Regions from separate parts of the Homo sapiens genome. Here all the other regions are linked to region 3. The links are contacts of gene promoters, found by promoter capture Hi-C in blood cells and fetal thymus (Javierre and others, 2016). All regions are on one chromosome and are shown on one strand. The core of a region is centred on a gene start or on the middle of the fragment in contact, and the rest is flanking DNA. Distances in the headings are between cores, read along the strand shown. Region 1 holds the start of NXT1 (nuclear transport factor 2 like export factor 1). Region 2 overlaps NAPB (NSF attachment protein beta). Region 3 holds the start of NANP (N-acetylneuraminic acid phosphatase).

The links. Contacts are between HindIII fragments. The CHiCAGO score rates a contact against its expected background, and 5 or more counts as called.
Region 1: a contact is called between the fragment with the promoter of NXT1 here and the fragment with the promoter of NANP in region 3, in 2 of 17 cell types (non-activated CD4 T cells and naive CD8 T cells). The highest score is 6.9, in non-activated CD4 T cells.
Region 2: a contact is called between a fragment that was not itself captured here and the fragment with the promoter of NANP in region 3, in 1 of 17 cell types (total B cells). The highest score is 5.9, in total B cells.

The regions. Positions count from the first base shown.
Region 1 is chr20:23,347,991-23,352,197 of GRCh38, forward strand. It overlaps NXT1 (nuclear transport factor 2 like export factor 1), which reads left to right and starts at 2,801. Exons shown (of 2, transcript NM_013248.3): 1 at 2,801-3,071. NXT1-AS1 (NXT1 antisense RNA 1) reads right to left here and starts at 3,477. Exons shown (of 3, transcript XR_937384.2): 1 at 3,340-3,477. RefSeq lists enhancers at 1,802-2,674, 2,383-2,522, 2,442-2,736, 2,675-3,546, 3,603-3,652 and silencers at 2,093-2,222, 2,843-3,112. The HindIII fragment of the contact is 12,471 bases long and covers 1-4,207 here.
Region 2 is chr20:23,406,580-23,410,806 of GRCh38, forward strand. The region is part of intron 1 of NAPB (NSF attachment protein beta); the gene reads right to left. Among named protein-coding and RNA genes, the nearest start is that of NAPB, 13 kb to the right of the region's middle. RefSeq lists enhancers at 1,569-1,628, 1,769-1,828. The HindIII fragment of the contact is 1,648 bases long and covers 1,136-2,783 here.
Region 3 is chr20:25,622,175-25,626,514 of GRCh38, forward strand. NANP (N-acetylneuraminic acid phosphatase) reads right to left here and starts at 1,840. Exons shown (of 2, transcript NM_152667.3): 1 at 1,685-1,840. The coding sequence starts at 1,774. ZNF337-AS1 (ZNF337 antisense RNA 1) reads left to right here and starts at 1,871. Exons shown (of 4, transcript NR_126465.1): 1 at 1,871-1,961. RefSeq lists enhancers at 1,113-1,788, 1,760-1,929 and a silencer at 1,530-1,589. The HindIII fragment of the contact is 6,234 bases long and covers 1-3,694 here.

The sequences.
Region 1 (4,207 bases), core at 1,551-4,050, 2.3 Mb before region 3:
TTCACGTCAGCCCGAGGAGATGGATATGACCATTGCCCCTATTCTACAGAGGAGGCAGCTGAGCCTCAAAGAGGCTAACTCACTTGCCACAGCCACCCTGCTAATGCTTAAGCCACACTAGTCAGGTTGCAAATAACTTTATGCTTATGCCCAATTTTAAATAGTACAAAAGATAAAAGGATTTCCTGGCTCTTGAAACTGAAAAGTCCAAACTTGAGGGATGATTTGACTCCCAACATAGTCATCAAGAGCCTGATTTCTTCCCAGCTTTCCTGTCTGCCTCATCAAGGGTCTACCACTCAGGGCAGCAAGATGGCTGCAACAGTGCTATCCACACACTGTGAGTCCAGAAGGGAAGGGAGAAAAATCTCCTTCCCCAGAATCCTTCAGCAAACACCTCCAGGCTCAGTGGCCCTAATTGGGCCTCCGACCACCCTCAGCTGTGCTCAACGCATACAGTGCCAGTCGTGTGTCCTTTGGAACCAGGGATGTCTCTGACCTCCCCAAACTCCAGGATCATAGTAAGGGAGGAGACCACCCCTCATATTGTCTTATGCCCAATTTCTGCCTCCAAAGAAAAAAGTAGTAAAAACTAAAAGGCAGAAATGAAATCCACAAGCAGACAGCCCAGCGCCACACCCTGGGCCTGGTAAAGATTGACTCCTGACCTAATTGGTTGTTTGCATAAAAAAGGCACTGTGAAGATCCCTGTCCTGTCCTGTTCCGTTCTAATTACCTGTGCATGCAGCCCCAGTCACATACCCACTGCTTGCTCAATTGATCATGACCCTCTCACGTGGACCCCCTTAGAGTTGTGAGCCCTTAAAAGGGACAGGAATTGCTCACTTGGGGAGTTCGGTTGTTGGAGACGTGAGTCTTGCTGAAGTTCCCTGGCCGAATAAAGCCCTTCCTTCTTTAACTTGGTTTCTGAGGGGTTTTGTCTGCGGCTTGTCCTGCTACAAATAGGGGGAATAAAAGCCAGGGTTGCTTCCAAAGAGAGCAGGGAGTGAGTGTTGAGGACAGATCATCACAACTGTGCAGTTGAGGAGCATGATTTGAACCCAGGTTTGTCTGTTCATTCAAACAGTATTTATTGAGCCCTTGCTTTGGGTCAGGCACAATTTTATATGCTGGAGACACAAACCTAAAAGGACCCTAACCTAAAAGGCAGACCCCACAAACCTAAAAGGCAGAACAGCTGCCTTTCAAAGCTAAAGTCTCGCATTTTTAAAAGGCCTTGGAGCTGCATTAATGTTCTTCTAATTTTTCTAGGTATGAATCTTCATACTTTTCTAGGTATGAATCGACCCTGTGACACCAGGATGGTTCTTTGTCAGCCTCCTTGTCTATAAAATCAGAAATAATGGTACCTCCCCCAATAAGTTATGTGAAACAAATTAAAGGGGCTTATTATACAGGAAACAAAAGCAGCACAGCATCCAAACTACTGAGCGTGCAGTAAATCAACGCATTCCCACTTCCATTCCATCCACGCTGATTTAGATCAATCCAAGTATCACTGCCTTGGGGTTCAAAAGGCCATGTTAGTTCACAAAGCCCCGAAAATGCTCTTTCACACTCTCTGCTCAGCCTCCAACGTGTCTTTTTAATAATCCAAACTTTCCACCTACTTAACTGAAGTGTGTGGGGGGAGAGGGTGCGGGGGGGAAGGGGTGGCCTATACTAAATAGCCCAACTGTTTTCCACTTGTCCTGAAATCTGAGACCAAGATTCTCTTAGGAATGCAAGCAAAGGGAGCCGACGGGACGCCAAGAAAGCACAGGTTAAACTACCTCACTTCATCTAGCCCCATTTCTCTCCTGGCTTTTCAATTAATTATTCAGCCTCAGACCAGCAGATGGAGCTGAAAATGTTGTCTAAAGAAATGAGGTTTTTCTTTTAATTTACAAGCTATAGTTTCTCATGCCTCCACACTGAATGGTTACATCCTGTTGAGCCTGTTCGTAAAGTTCAGTAAAAATCCAGTTCTCATTCCAGAACAGCTGAATCGTAGCTATGAACGCGGAAGAACAGAGTCCCAACCCCAGCCGGGCCCGGGTTTCCCGGGGCCCCTCAAGCCTCAGGGCAGTGGAGAGCCGCCGTCACGCCCCCGCCTCCCCCACGTCCCACCCTCGCCCCAGTCTCCTCCCACTTTTAGCTACTTTTCCCATCTGACTAAAACTGGCTTCCTCCGTGTCCACCAAGATGTCGCCTCTAAGTGGCCTAACTCCTAAAGAGCGCGATCGGCTCAAGCACTCCGCCACGCGGTTTCCACGGGGCGCGGCCGGCGTTGCCCTCGCCGTGGCCTCAAGCATTGCGGCGCCCCACATGTTGCCAGACGGAAGGCCTCGGCGGGGTCAGGCAGCTGCTGCTGGCCGTGACTACATCACTGGTGACGTTTCACGAGACTTTTAACTGAAATCACTCCAATACAGGCGCATGCGGGACGAGGGGAAAGCATCTCACCCGACCCCACACACCTTCCCCTCCCTCTCCAGCCTAGCGGCCTCCGCTCAGCGGAAAAAAAAGCAGACGCTACTCCCCGCTCTAGGTGCGGGACCTAAGAGGTTTGGCCCAATCAGGCATCCCACCTAACCAGACGGGCCGGAGTCTGTGGCCCGGTTGGACCAACGAAAACTCTAGGGCGGATTTGCCGGGATTTCTGGGAAAGTGACACTCCCGGAAGCTACCGCCTCTTATAAGCCACACATGGGCGGAGTTAGCCTTCCGGCCCGCAGTCCCACTGGCTGACTTCGCTGCCCGTCACGGGAATGCGGGAGAGGGCGGCGCCGGGGCGCTCGCGTCTGCGTGGAGACCGGCTGGCCGCGCGCGGGAAGCCGCGGAACTGCGCCGGAAAGTCCCCCGGCTCTGGGGCCCCGGTGACCCAGAGTAAGCCTCCAAGAAGGAGGAGGAGGAGAGAAAGGCGGCTCTTCCCGTGCCCCTACCAGAGGCTTCGGTGGGCCCACCTTGTGACCTCCGCGGCCGGCCCCTCAGTGGAACTGCGTCCCACGCGGGGGGCGTCCCGACCGTGGGGGCCGCGGCCCGCGCTGACCCTGGACGTCGCCGCGCAGGTACGTTGCCGTCCCCCGGCGGTCTGACCCCCGAGACAGCCCCTAGTGCATACCCCACGCCCTCCTCCATTGTCGAGAATGAGACACGGCTGTGCCTTTGTCCACGTGGTAGAGTTGCCGCCGCGGTGAGGCTCTCGCCTGTGCAAAAAGCGTGGCAGCGAATTCTCATCAACGAGGGGAGGCGCGTCCCCTCACAGCGCAGCTCTCGGGTCTGAGGAGGGCCGGGCAGGGCGTGCGTCTGTCTAGGTTTGAATTAAAGGCGACTCACAGGAAATAAGGCCATGCCACTGTGGTAGCTTTTCCCGTCCATCTCCGGACACTCGACGGTGTGGGTCGTGCGAGGAGGCGGCAGTCTTCACAGCCTCTTACTCTAGTCCTCACGGTCAGGTTCTTTTTCTGATTTGACACAGACAGCGGGACTGACGACCTCATAGGTAGCTGAAAACCGTAAGTGGAGATGGTCCTTCTATGGTGTGTGGGGGCGTGGCCAGTTGTTAGATTGTGTTTGGAAAGACAGCCAGGGGCGGAGAAGAGGGGCATTTCTGAGATGATGGGGGGACTGGTGCCATGGAGGGAGGAGGAGTGAGGTGGAGATCGGGAATTCCAGCCAAAGAGAAATGGGGTCCCTGGGAGAAAATTCCCACTCTAGCAGTCCTGGAGTTGTGCTCATGGAGACTTGCTTACGCGAGTACAAGGACAGCGTTGTATTGACAAAATTTCAGCCCTCAGTCTAGTCTTGTAAACGATAGATCAGGAGTGTACTTAACCGTCGTTACTTTGATCCAGCCCTAGGTTTCCCTTTTCTCATTTGTAAAATTGTTATAGTAATACCTTTTTCATCCATTTGTGGTAACATTTAAATGAGGTAATTTGTGTGAAGCCCTTAGCAAACACAGCGCTTCTTAGTCGTGGGTTCCGCGTGGGGTGGATTCAACCAACCTCAAATCAAAAATATTCTTCAGAAAAAGAAAAATGCGTTTGTACTGAACATGTAGAGGCTTTTTTTTTCTTGTCATTATTTCCTAAACTATACAGTATAACAACTATTTACATCCCATCTACATTGTATTAGGTATTATAAGTTACCTACAGATGATGAAGGTATATAGGAGGATGCTGCGCATAGGTTATATCAA
Region 2 (4,227 bases), core at 710-3,209, 2.2 Mb before region 3:
AAGCTACAGCTTTCTCTCACACCTTCATGTCCCTTTCCCTCCACTTCAAATCTACACATTAAAAAAAAAGAAAAACAGCTAATAAGTTTCCTAAATGGAAAATTCCTCACATGAAAACATTCTCAACCTTAGCCATACCTCCCTTGGCGTAAAGTCTTGCTACTTTCTTGGGTCTTGTTTTTCTAAAGAGTACTGGGAATCTTGAACTGTAATTATAGTTCAATCATTCTTATTAAAGGTTTCTAAATAAAACTAGCTTAATTAAAATGTACTTTATCCACTTATTTTCAGAGACAGGATACAGCTAGAATTAACAGAGTTCCTACATTATTCCAGGTTTTATGCTAGATATTTCCATATATGTTATGTCATTTTCATTATTACAACCATGAAAGACACTATCTCTATTTTACTGAAGAGAAAATGGCATCTAGAGGACAATGGCTTATCCAAGGCTACCCAGCCAAGGTCAGTAGTGTACCTGACACTTGACTTCAAGTTCAGTGACCTTTGAACTTTGCTAAACCATGAGATCCTCATGTCTCCTGAAACAGAATTGCCAGAGGTAGCCTCACTTTAAAAACCCATTTGTCATAAACTGACCATAACTTTAAAACTTCCTGAAAAAAGGTACTTTTGAAATTACACCGGATGCTTATTTTGTTTTATGTGAAAGTTAATTTTTTGTAAATTTTATGGACAAGTATTCAGAATTTGCATTCAAAGTAACAACTGTTATCCAGAGGTCTCACAGTGAGGCAGAAGATCCTTGGAAAAAATATTCTGTGGGGAATCCATATTACGCAGCAACATAAGTTAAACACTTAGCACTCAATTGACATTAAGAAGCTAAACTGAGCTAAATTAACTATTTTTTTGTATTACAGGAATCTGACTTGGAAGAAGAAAACATTTTCCCCACCGTGAAAGAAAACACTGCCCAGCTAGCACAAAAACCACTGCCACCTGGCTGGCCCAGGTGAACCACCCTTGCATTCCAGAGGCAAGGCAGACTCTCTTCTTCTTGACCGTACTTATTCAGGAAATATTTACTGAGATCCATATGTGCCAGAAAACACTAAGGAAATAAACTTCTTGCCCACAAGGAGGTCACGACACTGAGGAAAGAATATCAAGCTTCACGGCCAGAAGGGTCTGAGAAAAAGCCTATCAATTCCCCATGTTCCCCTGAGGAAACATTGTCAAAGCCACAAATGTCCCACCAGGAGCCAGTGAACAGCAGAGCTGTGAAAACCAATTCATCTTCAAATAATCTAAAATCTTGATTTCCCCCATCCTGAATAATAACTATTGCAGAGCATTGTAAAACTATGACAACTATAGTCCGTACTATTTTAAAACTGTGGGTGGGAGGAAGGAGACATCGTAGAATTGTGAGAACTAATGACACACACATCATGAGATGTACCTCAAAGAAAAAGGCTGACAACTCCTGAGATAGAAATAAAGTTGCCTCTAAAATCACAAGATATTAGAGTAGAAATACCACAAAAAGTGACAGTGACAGTACTATGAAGATAAGCATGTAGAACCAGAGGCAAAATTCAGCTCTAACATCAGGATGCCATGAAGGGGTGTGTCAAGCCACCCCAAAAGACTGAAAAGGGACTTGCCCAGTGTGGGGAGCCTGGGGGGATCCCCACAAAGCATGGTACCTCCTTCTTCTCATTATTTACCAGCAGTATCTCCTTAGCCACTAGACTGATGCTCTGGGGAAGAGGAAGCAGCACAGGGCCTAGCACACAGGCCACAATAACAAGGCTGATGCTTAGTGTCTGGATGGAACAAACTGTCCACATTCATTTTTTAAGGTTTCCCATGTATGCCTCAAAATAATAAGCAAATGTAGAAAGAATCCAGAAGAGAGGAAAATTCAAAATCTGTCTGAACGTGCCTCTGCCATACACAACTACTCTGTGATATTATAGGCTCTATAAACAATTTATTTCCACCTGATGCTTCACTTCTGGAAACTCCACAGATTCTAAAAACTTGGGGCTTTCCTAGGTAAACTTAACCCTTCCAAGATTACTTTATTTCAGTGCTTAATATATTTTAAAACAGTACAAATCTTTTATGTGATGCAAAAGTAGAGATTTCTTCCGTGGAGGAGATGCAGAGGCCCCAGAAGGACACAAAACAACTGGAAGAGATATTTTTACATGTTCTCAACACAAAGAAATGATAAATGTATGAGGTGATGAGTATGCTAACTATCCTGATTTGATCATTATACAACACAGACGTATATCAAAAAATCAAACTGTACCCCATCAATATATGCAATACAATGTGTCAATTAAAAACTATTTTTTTAAAAAGGTAGGAGGGAGATACTCTCCAGAATGCTAATTTGAATTCTTACAGCAAAAGGCAGCATTTAAATGTTTCACTGTTCTTTTATAAATCGGTAATGCAGAAGCCCAAGGTATGGTGGAAAGGCCCAGGGCATGGGCTTGAGTCAGACCACCTACAAATGAACAGTATCATTTATTTACCAGCCTCCAGTTCCCTGGAGCAGCCAGGCCTGTCTTGGCCTTGGAGAGAAAGAAAAATTCCACCAAGCCAGCTAGCACTGTACCAGTAAGGGGAGCGCTGTCTCAGTGGCCTTGAGCTTTTGGAATCAATTTTCTAAGAACTTTTCAGTTTACTTCTGCTTAATTAAGGACAAAAATCATAGATTCTCAAACAGAGAAAATAATCAGAGACATTTAAGGCCTGTGACCAAAGTATTTGTGTTTAAGCACAATTTCCTGAAATAAAGCTTATGAGAACAAGTATAACAAAGAAAACTAGTTAGACTTTATTTTGACAATAGTTTTCTAATGCCTCAACTTTATATGGGGAGTAGTCATCTTTATAGAGAAGAAATAGGTATACACTGGACCTATTTATAAAACAAAACAAACATATTTAAATACTTAAGAAAGATAATGGTAACTGCTAGATTAATTCAGAAATGACTGTTACATACAACCTGATTTACCAAGAGCAGTTTTTAAATTGAATTTCAGTCTTTATAAAAATTTAAGCTGAATTTCAGTCTTCAGAAAATACTGATGAGACATGTGATTCCCAAAAAATCATGGTGGCTGCTTAGATAAATATATCCACACATCCTCCAAAAACCTTATAGATCAACAAAAAGCATACACAACCACCCATAATCCGTGCCTACAGCAAAAGGAGGCAGTATTCAGCAAGCCTCCATTAAATATAATTTAGGAAATAAAAAATCCAAAACTACCAGAGCTAGCAACACTGCCTCTGCTGCCAGTCAGAGGGGCGTCTGTCGACAGGAGAGGGGAGTTTAACCTGGCAATCATTGTCCAGGGAAGAACTCTCAGCAAGGAAGTGCCCTACCAGGGTGGGCAAACACCCCAGACCAGGTGGAAGACCTGGCAGGTTAGAGCACTGCAGTTGGGAACTGAATAGAAGGGCTTTGCCACAGGCTGCAGTTTCCAGAAGACACTGCTTCTGGGAGAAGGCAACTTAGAAGGTGGGGGCAGCTCTATGGAGGTTTGGCAGTGAAAGGAAAGAAGGCAAGTGATGGAAATACGTTCTTGAAACAAAAGAGTATCACAGAATTAGAAGTCACACAAACCTACCCCTCCACAGCACCATTCATTAAAGAAACCGCACTTAACTGTACCTACACAACGCAGCATTTAAACTAAGAAACCCATGAAGTCACACAAACCGCTCATCTCCTATCACAGAAACACATGCTATTGTGTGTCCAAGAAACTCTGTGACTCTCTACACTAAACAGAAAGGAGAAACAGCATCCATATGAAGCTACTACATAAGAAAGAAGATCCTAAGTGAATTAATGCAGGAACAGAAAACCAAATACCGCATGTTTTCACTTATAAGTGGTAGCTAAACACTGGATACCCATGGGCATAAAAATGGCAACCGTAGACACTGGGGACACTAGCGGGGTATGGGGAGAGAAACAGTTGAAAAACTATTGGGTACTATGCTCAGTATCTGGGTGACAGGATCATCTGTACCCTAAACCTCAGTATCACACAATATACCCAGTTAACAAACCTGCATATGTACCCCCTGACTCTAAAATAAAAGTTGTAAAAAAGGAACAAATATTAAAATAAAAATGAGCCATACCAAAAAAGCCCCAAAACAAAAAAGAAACAAGAATTAAAATACGTTCCCTAAAACAATCACAAGGCACAGGAAAAC
Region 3 (4,340 bases), core at 590-3,089:
GAATGTGGAGGACACACTGGATGTGGTAAACCTGGAGACAAGCCCACAGCAACAGTCTAGGTGAGAGATGAGTTCAGCTGTAACTGAGACATGCACGGGGCATGTGCAGTGGTGGACAGACAGCGTACGAGGGTGGAAGGTGCTATAGTTCGCTGAGTGGACACTGCAACCATGGGCTTCCCAAGTATTACAGGGTTATTGAGGACTAATATAATTCACATTTTATGAAGATATAAGGCTCCGAGTGGTTAATTCCTTGAGGCACTTTCAGCTAGGTTTTGGGAGAGCTGTGATTCATATTCAAATGTCTGATTTTAAAGCCCAAACTCTGGGCCTACAGCAAGAATTGGCCTAAAGCAATAATTTAATTGAAATGCACAGGACTCAGCTTACTAATAACACACAGGTAAATATGTAACATCTGCAGCGAGAGATACTGGAGGCAATATGGCACAGGGTGGCACCCCTGAGGTGGAGGCCAACAAGTTAAAAGTGTGGAATGCCTCAGTAAAGTCATGAAGACAGACTTTAAAAATGTCTACTGATTCCGGCATTTTGGGAATGCCTAGTGATCCAGCAAGTCTATTTCAGTCTAGCGGTGAAGATAAAGCGACATTACGATGGATTTAGTAATAAATAGGAGGTAGAGACAAGGAGATAACGGGTATAGATTTCTCCGGGAAAACATGGCTGTCAAGAGAGACAGGCAACATCTACAGCAGGAAGAATAGCCCAAAGGGAGGCATCCTTTTTACAGCTTTTTTAAAACTATAGGGCAAACATGAATATGCGGCAGGAGTGGAATGCAGCTAAAAAGAAAACGGATGAGGTAGTGGAAGATCCAGGGACACAAAAACTAACTGATGAAGCATGAAGAGGACGGGGCGCTCAGGTTTGGATGAATTAGCTTTTGAAAGTGAGTTTTCCACATCTGATAAATCCTTCCCTTTCCCCTTGAAGCTGAAGGTAGAGAAAGGGAAGCCGGGGTGGACTGGGGCTGGAACACGGGAAGGTCTGAAAGCGCCTCCGCGCGTGTAGAGGGGCAGTGCCGCGGAGGAGCGCCTCAGGAAGGGCATGCCCTCGCAGCACGGGCTTTTGCTGTGTCACGTGTCAGAAAGCCACGGTGACCACCACCCCGCCAGGGAGGCCAGAAGAAGTTCTGCGGCGACAATTCTCTAAAGCAGGGCTTAAGTCCAGGCTCGGTACTGACAGCCGTGTCCCTTCTTGGGTCAACACTGGGGCTAACTCTACCATGTCTCCTCCCAGCAACCCCGAAAGTCGCATGGGGGACACGACCCTCTGTCGAGCTCCACACCGACAGTCTGACCGGGGGCGGGACCAGCGCCTGGTCTCGCGGCTTTGCTGTCGCCTCCCGCGCCCACGGGCACCTCCGCCACCGTGGCAGCCGTCACGGAGCCCTTCCGCGTCCCGAGCGCCAAGGCACCTGCGAGCAGCCGCTCCAGGGCTCGAGATTGGGTGACAAGCGGCCGCCAGGCCAGGGAAAGCAGACCCGCAGGGCCCGCGCGCCTCCAGCCACCTCCGCACCCGCACGCTCCACAGGTTTCAACCAGCAAGAGCGGCCCGCGGCGCCGGGGTGGAAGTGGGGTCAAGGGGAGGTGAGCGTGCAGGACGGGGCGGGGCGCACTGACCCCGCCCAGAGGAGCGCCATGGGTGGGGACGTTACCTCCAACATGCCTCTCCTGCTCGCCCCGGCCGTGTCGATGAGAGTGTTGTCCAAGTCAAAGAAAACCGCCCGCACGCGGCTCAGCCCCATAGCGCCGGCCGCTGGCGCGAACCGTAGCCTTGCCACCGCCGCCTGCGCATGCGCAAGGCGGACTGCCCAGAGAGACGTGGGAGGAGCCGCGAAGTCACCAGACCATCTCCCGGCGCGGGTGGAATTCCCGCGATCTGTCTCATTCCCTGCGCCGCCGAGAAAAGTGAGATCCCGCGAGACTCCCAGGGTATGGTCTCTCAAGAGCCCTGGAAACGTGTGTCGGCGCCGCCGGATGCGGCGACTTCTCAGTGGCTGTGGCTGGCGTTGGTCCGAAGCGTGGTGTTCTTCCCTGGTGTCTTTCTGCTTATCTCTTTCCTCCCTGGGCCCTCCGGCGCGAGGGACCGTCATCACCTCCCCGAGAGAGGTTGTCCGCGCTGCCAGGCGCTGGGCAGCAGGCTCTCCGGGTGGCCGGGCGGGCGGCGCGGAGACGTCGGCGGGCCTGATGTCTGCCTTGAGCGCCCGCGGTCCTAGCCTGCCTGTACGCGCAGGTCACTGTAGGTGATCTGGGGACGGGGGAAGGTGGAGCCTGCGCCTTCCCGCCTCGCGCCATTTGCGGCCTTCGCCGGGGTGGAATCCCTGTCTGCCTGGGCCCGCGCCAGCACGTTTCTGAAGGATGTGACTTGGGTCTCTTACAACCCGTTTAGTACCTGTGCCCTAAGACGGAGGGGCTGTGTAGTGGCTGCCCCATGTTTTGCCCTTCCTGATTGTTTTCCTGAAACCTTGCGTTCTCAGGTCTTTGGATGCCTTTTACTCGGTTGTTTTCAGGCATAGCAAGAGGTTGAGGGACGTCGACCGCCTTTTAAACCCGCGGAAGGGCTGTAGCAACTCTTGTCTCCTAGTGCTGGCAGAACGGGGATCGTAACACTAATCTCTAATCTTTGTCTCTCTTGGGTACCTTTACTGTAATTTGGATATGTGGTCATCATTAGTGACCAGAAATTGACTGTCAGGTACAGGCCAATTACCTGATTTTGTTTAGCCAGTGAGCTAAGTGGTTTTTTTTATTTTTTAATTTATTTTTATTTTTATTTTCGAGATGGAGTCTTGCTCTGTCACCCAGTCTGGCGTGTAGTGGCACGATCTTGGCTCACTGCAACCTCCGCCTCCCGGGTTCAAGCAATTCTCCGGCTTCAGCCTCCTGAGTAGCTGGGATTACAGGCGCATGCCACCACCCCCCGGCTAATTTTTGTATTTTTAGTAGAGACGGAGTTTCACCATGTTGGCCAGGCTGGTTCTCGAACTCCTGACTTCGTGATCCACCCGTCTTGGCCTCCCAAAGAGCTGGGATTACAGGCGTGAGCCACCGCGCCTGGCTAAGGGTGATTTTTACATTTGTAAATGGATTTAAAAAATCAAAATAACAGTGTTTTGTTACACATGAAAATCAAGAAATTTTAGTGCCCATAGTTGCATTAGAACACAGCGCACACATTCATTTCTGTATCGTCTGTGGCTGCTGTTGCCATACAGAAGCAGACAGAGTTGAGTAATTGTAAGCGAGACCACGTGGCTGGAAATCCTAAAATATTCATTATTTAGCTCTTTAGAGAAAAAAATTGCCAGTCTCTCACCTCGCTGGTGGAACTCCTTAACAGACCACTGATGTTCAGTAGGTTAGATTAATTGGTTTATCTTTATATTAATAGGAGTTTCTTCTGCAGCGTTAGACTACCTACAGTTTCTATATTTTATGGAGCACAATCACAGTTGACATCTCATTGCTATGGTGGAGAATAAACCCATAGGCATTCCTCAAAACCATGACTCCTTTCTGTGCTTACCTCATTGACGTATAGGGCTAGCCTATCAATTGTGGACATTTAGATTAGCAATCAGCCAAAATTATGGTGAATTAATTGGAGTTACTTTTAATTGCCTGAAATGTCAGAATCAATTTAGCATAAAACTATAGGCACAGGAAGCTTATAGGATTGGAGCAGCTTTTTTTTTTTTTTTCTGACTTGCATGCAGAGTTTGTTGTTTGCTGATTTAGGCAAAAATCTAAGGTTAGATGAGGCATAGCAGTCTGTATAATCCTTTTAAGGGGATGCGTTGTTTGATAGATTTCCTTTTGTGACAAGTCGTCTAATGGCATTCCATGACCTGTCCAACTTTGTGTAGAGCACCCTATTCTGTTGCTGTTCATAAAAATCTGAATCTGTTGTCCCACACATAGCACCAATTGAAAATAAAAAACAGGAGAGGGAGGATTAAAATTGGCCTATACCGCCTCCTCCAATTGCAGAAACATCGGTGCTGCCTCCTTCGGTAGTAGAAATAGAAACCCCAACACAAAGAATTTTACGCTCTGCTGTCATAGCTGGAGAGCCCTTAGGACCTTGCGCTTTTCCTGTTTCCATAAGGCCTGATCCAAATAATCCATAGTAGGTAATTCATGAACACACTCCACAGGAATTTAAGTTGTTGAAGGAATTAAAAACTAGTGTGGTCAATAATGGAGTACAAAGCCCATGGTTCCCAGAGGAAGGAATTCTAGACATAGAACTCTGGGAACAAGTGGGGAGAAACCTTAAACAACATCAGGCGCAAAGGCATCAGGTCCCAG